3 separate regions of the Homo sapiens genome follow, and regions 1 and 3 are each linked to region 2. Evidence: promoter capture Hi-C in 16 types of primary human blood cells and fetal thymus (Javierre and others, 2016). All regions are on one chromosome and are shown on one strand. Each heading gives the region's core, a stretch centred on a gene start or on the middle of the fragment in contact. The rest is flanking DNA. Distances are from core to core; before and after follow the strand shown. Region 1 overlaps LOC101926889 (a long non-coding RNA gene). Region 2 holds the start of NANP (N-acetylneuraminic acid phosphatase). Region 3 overlaps ABHD12 (abhydrolase domain containing 12, lysophospholipase).

Region 1 (2,861 bases), core at 100-2,599, 430 kb after region 2:
TTATATTTGGTTTAAAGTGAAATTATAAACTAAGTTTCTCCACAGATTTGTTTGGCCTATGCCCAGGAATGTGCAAAGGCAGATTGGAGGTTAGAAGATGGAGTCGGTTAGGCCAGCTTTCTTTCACTGTTGTAATTTTCCTATGTCATATTTTTCTTATTGTCATAATTTTTGCAAAGACACAACACCCGTCATTACTTGTTTGCTGACTTGTTTATTGGTAAATTCTTTGTTCCACTACTGAAATGAAGCTCCATGAGAACAAATAAGTTGGTCTGTCCTGCTCACTGCTGCATGTCTGGCACTCTGTCTAGAACATGGTAGGTGCCTGTAGCATACATTATTGGTGCTAATGTCCCTTGCCTGCCTCTGCCGTCAGCTCTCTGATTGTTGTGGAGAGTTCCCCTGAATGCTGCCACCTCAAGCATCTCGTTGCTGTCCTCTTTAGGGCTTATCTTACGACTTTCTCCGGAAGCCTTGGGAGCAGGCGCAGCCTGGAATTCAGGGAAATTTAACATCCCCGGGGCAACTGCAGGGCAGTTTGGGTGGCCTTGGACAGACCCAGTCCCCTTTTTACCATGTAGTTCTCAGGAATAACTGCAGAATGTGCTAGGATTGCAGCATCTTGAGATAAGGGAGAACTGGCTGAACAGCCCAAGGTCAGTTCCAGTCTCCTGCTGAAAATAGGATGTCCTTCAACACTGCCCAGCAAATCACATTACCCTGGGATGTTAAACCCAGGGCAGGCTGCTCTCTGGCATTCCTCGTCTGTGGTGCAAGTGGGGCATGCCCAGTTGAGACTCCATTTGCCCTGAGCAGATTTCCTGAGCCTCAGGCAACCAGCTTGCAATGAATGCTCCTCTTGTCCCTTGCTGCCTGTCTGTAAGTAATAAATTTGCTTCATATAACTTATTGAGTATGAATGCGTTCTCTCTCACTGGACACAGACATGTTGGTAACCAATGCACAGTGAACCTCCTTCACAGCAACCCTTAATTAACTGGGGATATATACCTCAGCCTTCTGTCCCCAGAGGACCAATTCTGAGTCCTCAGTAGAAGTGAGCCTCAGTGACCCTTAGTGGTGATCAGCTCAGTAATGCCCCCTTGGGTTGGTCCTCCGATCTTTCTCGGTTCTCTCTCTCTCTCTCTCTCCTGCTTCTGGGAATCACCTCCCAGGTCAACTACCTGCATCTAAGCTCTTGACTCAAACTGCCTTTGGGTAAACTCAAATGAAGTCAACATATAAAATATTTCTTGAAGAAATGGATGGATTGATGAGGGTGCTTCTAATGTTTTCACTTGTCAGCCAGAAGCAGCTCAGCCCTGCAGGCAGAAGGTGAAGGAAGCCAATTGGCACCCGCCCTAGGAATGCAGGAGCAGATAACTGAGACATGGGCTCCAGCAGAACATGTATGCAAGTGTTCTGACAGCAGGGGGGAGTGCCTGGCCCTGCTTTTTGGGGGTGAGAATGTTTTAGAAGAGGTTGGTGAGTTACCAAGCTGCCTCAATTTACCTAACTTGAGTAATAGTGGAGGAAGCCCTCTATTGTGTGTGGCTTGCTCACATGTGTCCACCTACTCACAAAAGTCCAGGAGGACAGCTGCAAAGCTGTCTGCTCAGTGAAGGAACAGAACATGGACTGTGCAGTGTCTCTGTAGCAGAGGCTGCCAGGCCTCCTGCCTGTGTCTGTCCCACTGTGTGCTCCCGTGACTCTCCACAGCAGGGCCTTCTTTTGGCAGAGGAAGTGCCAGGAGGTAATGCTTCTGAGAGCAGTTTCAGCCCATGTCAGGTGCAAAGACCCTGGCTCCCTTTCCACTCAGGACAACTCTCCGGCATGTCTACTTGGCATTGAACACAGTGGTCCAGAGCGGTAACCCACACTGGCTTTCCTCCCTTCCCTGTCTCACTGCCCCACTCCTCTACTGGTTTTTCCTGGTGTCACCTCCTAAATAAACTACTTGCACTCAAATCATTCTTTAGAATTTGTTTTGGAAGAATTCAACCTAAGATACCATCACTCATAGGTCATTTGTTAATAATATCAAACAAAACATCTTAGCCACTGCTCTGATTTCTTCCTTTGGTTCCCTGAAATCTATAACCACAAATCACTGCTTTCTCTACCAAATATTTTTCCTGTAACTCACCAAAAAAGTCAGATCTTCCCTGCTCATGGCTAGCCTTCCATTTTCCAAAATCTACTACAAACAAGAAAAAATGTGAGGGAAACCCTACTCTTCCCCAAGAGAACTTGGCATTTATGATTCCTGCCTGCCACATGGGCCATTGTGTGGTCTCTTTTAGCTTCCCGATGGATGATCCAACAGATGTCATCTTGCACTGTAGTGATAGTCTTGTTGGGACCACATGAAGTGCAGCTGTAAAACAGGTAATACTGTTCTTGGCAATTGGTCGACTGTCCTGGTAGGGGGAGACTGGTGTGAACAGATTGTCCCATTTAGAGTAGCTGTTAATGGACTGTCTTCTCTCCATGAGGGCCTTTAGCATTTTACATTGTATAGGTTGTCGTCTACCAGATTAAGAAAATGTTCTTCTATTTCTAGTTTAAGAGTTTTAAAAAATCATTAATGAATGTTCAGTTTTATTTTGTGCATTTCCTTCATCTATACATGATATTATTATTTTTCTCCACTAATTTTCTTTTTTGTTTGAGATGGAGTTTCGCTCTGTCACCCAGGCTGGAGTGCAGTGGCATGATCTTGGCTCACTGCAACCTCCACCTCCCTGGTTCAAGCAATTCCCCTGCCTCAGCCTCCCAAGTAGCTGGGATTACAGGCACACGCTGGCATGCCCAGCTAATTCTTTTGTATTTTTAGTAGAGACGGGGTTTCACCATGT
Region 2 (3,196 bases), core at 340-2,839:
AGAAACTCCTATTAATATAAAGATAAACCAATTAATCTAACCTACTGAACATCAGTGGTCTGTTAAGGAGTTCCACCAGCGAGGTGAGAGACTGGCAATTTTTTTCTCTAAAGAGCTAAATAATGAATATTTTAGGATTTCCAGCCACGTGGTCTCGCTTACAATTACTCAACTCTGTCTGCTTCTGTATGGCAACAGCAGCCACAGACGATACAGAAATGAATGTGTGCGCTGTGTTCTAATGCAACTATGGGCACTAAAATTTCTTGATTTTCATGTGTAACAAAACACTGTTATTTTGATTTTTTAAATCCATTTACAAATGTAAAAATCACCCTTAGCCAGGCGCGGTGGCTCACGCCTGTAATCCCAGCTCTTTGGGAGGCCAAGACGGGTGGATCACGAAGTCAGGAGTTCGAGAACCAGCCTGGCCAACATGGTGAAACTCCGTCTCTACTAAAAATACAAAAATTAGCCGGGGGGTGGTGGCATGCGCCTGTAATCCCAGCTACTCAGGAGGCTGAAGCCGGAGAATTGCTTGAACCCGGGAGGCGGAGGTTGCAGTGAGCCAAGATCGTGCCACTACACGCCAGACTGGGTGACAGAGCAAGACTCCATCTCGAAAATAAAAATAAAAATAAATTAAAAAATAAAAAAAACCACTTAGCTCACTGGCTAAACAAAATCAGGTAATTGGCCTGTACCTGACAGTCAATTTCTGGTCACTAATGATGACCACATATCCAAATTACAGTAAAGGTACCCAAGAGAGACAAAGATTAGAGATTAGTGTTACGATCCCCGTTCTGCCAGCACTAGGAGACAAGAGTTGCTACAGCCCTTCCGCGGGTTTAAAAGGCGGTCGACGTCCCTCAACCTCTTGCTATGCCTGAAAACAACCGAGTAAAAGGCATCCAAAGACCTGAGAACGCAAGGTTTCAGGAAAACAATCAGGAAGGGCAAAACATGGGGCAGCCACTACACAGCCCCTCCGTCTTAGGGCACAGGTACTAAACGGGTTGTAAGAGACCCAAGTCACATCCTTCAGAAACGTGCTGGCGCGGGCCCAGGCAGACAGGGATTCCACCCCGGCGAAGGCCGCAAATGGCGCGAGGCGGGAAGGCGCAGGCTCCACCTTCCCCCGTCCCCAGATCACCTACAGTGACCTGCGCGTACAGGCAGGCTAGGACCGCGGGCGCTCAAGGCAGACATCAGGCCCGCCGACGTCTCCGCGCCGCCCGCCCGGCCACCCGGAGAGCCTGCTGCCCAGCGCCTGGCAGCGCGGACAACCTCTCTCGGGGAGGTGATGACGGTCCCTCGCGCCGGAGGGCCCAGGGAGGAAAGAGATAAGCAGAAAGACACCAGGGAAGAACACCACGCTTCGGACCAACGCCAGCCACAGCCACTGAGAAGTCGCCGCATCCGGCGGCGCCGACACACGTTTCCAGGGCTCTTGAGAGACCATACCCTGGGAGTCTCGCGGGATCTCACTTTTCTCGGCGGCGCAGGGAATGAGACAGATCGCGGGAATTCCACCCGCGCCGGGAGATGGTCTGGTGACTTCGCGGCTCCTCCCACGTCTCTCTGGGCAGTCCGCCTTGCGCATGCGCAGGCGGCGGTGGCAAGGCTACGGTTCGCGCCAGCGGCCGGCGCTATGGGGCTGAGCCGCGTGCGGGCGGTTTTCTTTGACTTGGACAACACTCTCATCGACACGGCCGGGGCGAGCAGGAGAGGCATGTTGGAGGTAACGTCCCCACCCATGGCGCTCCTCTGGGCGGGGTCAGTGCGCCCCGCCCCGTCCTGCACGCTCACCTCCCCTTGACCCCACTTCCACCCCGGCGCCGCGGGCCGCTCTTGCTGGTTGAAACCTGTGGAGCGTGCGGGTGCGGAGGTGGCTGGAGGCGCGCGGGCCCTGCGGGTCTGCTTTCCCTGGCCTGGCGGCCGCTTGTCACCCAATCTCGAGCCCTGGAGCGGCTGCTCGCAGGTGCCTTGGCGCTCGGGACGCGGAAGGGCTCCGTGACGGCTGCCACGGTGGCGGAGGTGCCCGTGGGCGCGGGAGGCGACAGCAAAGCCGCGAGACCAGGCGCTGGTCCCGCCCCCGGTCAGACTGTCGGTGTGGAGCTCGACAGAGGGTCGTGTCCCCCATGCGACTTTCGGGGTTGCTGGGAGGAGACATGGTAGAGTTAGCCCCAGTGTTGACCCAAGAAGGGACACGGCTGTCAGTACCGAGCCTGGACTTAAGCCCTGCTTTAGAGAATTGTCGCCGCAGAACTTCTTCTGGCCTCCCTGGCGGGGTGGTGGTCACCGTGGCTTTCTGACACGTGACACAGCAAAAGCCCGTGCTGCGAGGGCATGCCCTTCCTGAGGCGCTCCTCCGCGGCACTGCCCCTCTACACGCGCGGAGGCGCTTTCAGACCTTCCCGTGTTCCAGCCCCAGTCCACCCCGGCTTCCCTTTCTCTACCTTCAGCTTCAAGGGGAAAGGGAAGGATTTATCAGATGTGGAAAACTCACTTTCAAAAGCTAATTCATCCAAACCTGAGCGCCCCGTCCTCTTCATGCTTCATCAGTTAGTTTTTGTGTCCCTGGATCTTCCACTACCTCATCCGTTTTCTTTTTAGCTGCATTCCACTCCTGCCGCATATTCATGTTTGCCCTATAGTTTTAAAAAAGCTGTAAAAAGGATGCCTCCCTTTGGGCTATTCTTCCTGCTGTAGATGTTGCCTGTCTCTCTTGACAGCCATGTTTTCCCGGAGAAATCTATACCCGTTATCTCCTTGTCTCTACCTCCTATTTATTACTAAATCCATCGTAATGTCGCTTTATCTTCACCGCTAGACTGAAATAGACTTGCTGGATCACTAGGCATTCCCAAAATGCCGGAATCAGTAGACATTTTTAAAGTCTGTCTTCATGACTTTACTGAGGCATTCCACACTTTTAACTTGTTGGCCTCCACCTCAGGGGTGCCACCCTGTGCCATATTGCCTCCAGTATCTCTCGCTGCAGATGTTACATATTTACCTGTGTGTTATTAGTAAGCTGAGTCCTGTGCATTTCAATTAAATTATTGCTTTAGGCCAATTCTTGCTGTAGGCCCAGAGTTTGGGCTTTAAAATCAGACATTTGAATATGAATCACAGCTCTCCCAAAACCTAGCTGAAAGTGCCTCAAGGAATTAACCACTCGGAGCCTTAT
Region 3 (2,968 bases), core at 181-2,680, 310 kb after region 2:
TGCTGCGGGGCCAGGGCCGAGGTCCCGTGTGGCACCAGGGTATGTCAGGGCTGGGGGCAAACATTTTATAGGCAGAGCCAGCAAGGAGAGCTGTGCTGGGCCCTTCTGGAAGGGAAAGCAGGCCTAGGTGGGGTCTGCATGGTGGAACCCTGCAGAGAGCATTGCTGAAAGAGCCTGGCGGCATGGCCCGTGAAGCGGTTTCTGTGTCAGGGATGGCGTGTCTAGCTACAGAATCATGCATGTGCTGCACAGTTTCCTTTCTTCTTTGTCTGGGACAAGCTGCAGAGGGTTTCTCTTCTGCTTTTCAAAGAGCAAGTGGCTACAAACAGCTCTTGCAGCATCTTTTTATAAATGACAGAACTGTGGTTGGCTGTGAATAAGGTTCAGTTCTGCAGTGCCCATCACATGGTTAAAAAAAAAAAAAAAAGATCCTGCCTATAACTTTAGGTTAGAAAGGGATGCCGTGACTTTCAGTGTTTGCTGCCCCCTCCCAATCCTGCAGAGACTGCCTGGCTGCAGTCCTCGCCACCCCCACGTTGCCTGCTTTCTTTGTCCTGTGCATCCCACTGGGGTTTCGCTGGTCTGCGGGATCCACCACCCGGGTCCCCCTGAGGTCCAGACCCCCTGGATTCCCAGCAACTGTTCCTTTTTTGCTTAATGTAGGAAATTTTAGAAACTTAGAGCCACTGTGAACTCTTACAATGATAACTGAAAATATTTTGCAGTGTTTCCTCCTTGCCTTGAAACTCATTCCTTTATTTTTTATTTTAATTTTTGAGACAGAGTCTCACTCTGTTGCCCAGGCTGGAGTGCAGTGGCACAATCCTGACTCACTGCAACCTCAGCCTCCTGAGTTCAAGTGACTCTCCTGCCTCGGTCTCCCGAGTAGCTGGGATTACAGTCACCCACCACCATGGCCAGCTAATTTTTGTATTTTTAGTAGAGACGGGTTTCACCATTTGACCAGGCTGGTCTCAAACTCCTGAGCTCAAGTGATCTGCTCACCTCGGCCTCCCAAAGTGCTGGGATTACAGGTGTGAACCACCGCACCTGACCCTTTATATTTTTGTTTCTGTACTTTATTGGCTTCCTCCTCCATCTCATCCTGGTGTCCAACCAGCAACACTCCCGCCCCCATACCTGAAATGTTGAGACCGCTCCTGAGGAAGGAGGAGCACGGCTAGGGAGTGTGGAGAGTGTGGACCCGCCCTCCTCCCAGGTGGCCCATGTCCCTGCTGTGGGGTCGGTCCAGGTTAACAGCTGGCCAACAACTGGAAAGAAAGAGGGAAGGGAGCCTAGACAGGCCTCAGACAAGGAAGTACAAATGGGAGGGTGTGTGCCGAGCCCACTTAGTCTCAGTAGCGACATGCACGGTGAAGCTGTAGTTGGCTGTGAGGGGCGGGAGGCAGCCGTTCCGGCACTTCAGGGCCTCCCTGGGGAGATTCTAGGAGCATATCCCATGTGCAGAGCACACACATGTGAAGGGCTGTAAGGCAGGGTGGCCACAGCAGCAAACAGAAGTTAGTGCCAGGTGGGAAACAGTCAAGATGACCATGAGAGGCCAGGGTGGTGTGGCTAAGCAGAGTTCTGAAGGTCGGCTGAGACGTGCGGAGCAAGAAGTGAGGGCAGAAGTCGCCCATACGGGTCCTGTTGGAGCACAGCCTCTGTCTACACAGGGTGTCCTTGGCACAGGGAAGCTGGGAGGGTCTGGGGTGTGGTGGATGAGGCCTTGCTGTGTTTCCTTTAGTGTCTTTCTAGTTTGGGGCTGTAGGTGTGCATTACCTACTGAAAAATAAAAGCAGTCATTAAGAAATCTCCCCCAAAGTGCTAAGACCATCTCCCCCTTGGCACAGCACTGCCAGAGGCGAGTGTGGGGCTACTTAGGGGGACCCAAGGAAGAGGTTCTGCCCTCTTTCATTGGCCTCCCCCTGGTTTGGGGTATGGAGGACAAGTTGACCTGGGGCCCAACTCTGAGAAGATGTGCTCACACCATGTCCTGTTTTCTTCTCCAGAGGAGGCGACCACCGCGTGGAGCTTTACAAGGTGAGTGCAGGCAGCACCCACACCTGTTCCCTGGGCTGTTCTTTCCAGGGCAGGAAGTGAAGGGAGTCACCAGACTCACAGCTTGAGAGTTAACTATTGCTGGGCTGTTTGTGTGTGTGAGACAGGGTCCTCCTCCTCTGTTGCCCAGGCTGGAGTGCAGTGGTACAGTCACAGCGCACTGCAGCGTCGACCTCCTGGGCTCAAACTATCCTCCTGCTTCAGCCTCCTGAGACTGCAGGTGCATGCCGCCACCACGCCCAGCTAATTTTTGTTTGTTTTTTTGTAGAAATGAGGTCTCCCTATGTTGCTCAGGCTGGTCTCGAACTCCTGGGCCTCCCACCTTGGCCTCCCAAAGTGTTGGGATGACAGGCGTGTTGAGCTTTTTAACACTGCCTTTGGATGGGCGTGCTGGAAGGTAGGGCCTTGGCTGCCTCTGCTGTGACTGCCCATCACACTGCTTCTAGGCCTGGGCCCCAACATCAGAATGTATGGGCTTTGTAGACCAAGTGCAGATATTGGCAGACTACATAAGCAGCACTGGAAATTGTTTTTCAATGTTACGTTACTTGTGTATAAAATGAAAAGAGACGGCTGGGTGTGGTGGCTCACGCCTGTAATCCCAGCACTTTGGGAGGCCAAGATGGGTGGATCACAAGGTCAGGAGTTCAAGACCAGCCGGCCAGGATGGTGAAACCCCGTCTCTACTAAAAATACAAAAAAAATTAGCCAGGCGTGGTGGCGGGCGCCTGTAATCCCAGCTACTCAGGAGGCTGAGGCAGAGAATTGCTTAAACCTGGGAGGCGGAGGTTGCAGTGAGCCAAGATGGCACCACTGCACTCTAGCCTGGGCAACAGAGCAAGACTCCGTCTCAAAAAACAAAAAAAAAGGAAAAGAGAAACCAGGTGCTCCAGGTGCTACACTGACT

The links. Contacts are between HindIII fragments. The CHiCAGO score rates a contact against its expected background, and 5 or more counts as called.
Region 1: a contact is called between a fragment that was not itself captured here and the fragment with the promoter of NANP in region 2, in 2 of 17 cell types (monocytes and total B cells). The highest score is 7.5, in monocytes.
Region 3: a contact is called between a fragment that was not itself captured here and the fragment with the promoter of NANP in region 2, in 1 of 17 cell types (monocytes). The highest score is 5.7, in monocytes.

What each region holds. Positions count from the first base shown.
Region 1 is chr20:25,189,748-25,192,608 of GRCh38, reverse strand. It overlaps LOC101926889 (a long non-coding RNA gene), which reads left to right. Exons shown (of 6, transcript NR_109994.1): 2 at 2,307-2,391. Among named protein-coding and RNA genes, the nearest start is that of ENTPD6, 4.5 kb to the left of the region's middle. The HindIII fragment of the contact is 3,902 bases long and covers 1-2,861 here.
Region 2 is chr20:25,622,407-25,625,602 of GRCh38, reverse strand. It overlaps NANP (N-acetylneuraminic acid phosphatase), which reads left to right and starts at 1,589. Exons shown (of 2, transcript NM_152667.3): 1 at 1,589-1,744. The coding sequence starts at 1,655. It overlaps ZNF337-AS1 (ZNF337 antisense RNA 1), which reads right to left and starts at 1,558. Exons shown (of 4, transcript NR_126465.1): 1 at 1,468-1,558. RefSeq lists enhancers at 1,500-1,669, 1,641-2,316 and a silencer at 1,840-1,899. The HindIII fragment of the contact is 6,234 bases long and covers 1-3,196 here.
Region 3 is chr20:25,316,123-25,319,090 of GRCh38, reverse strand. It overlaps ABHD12 (abhydrolase domain containing 12, lysophospholipase), which reads left to right. Exons shown (of 13, transcript NM_001042472.3): 5 at 2,013-2,043. Among named protein-coding and RNA genes, the nearest start is that of PYGB, 70 kb to the right of the region's middle. RefSeq lists enhancers at 62-301, 332-391, 1,505-2,114. The HindIII fragment of the contact is 6,692 bases long and covers 1-2,968 here.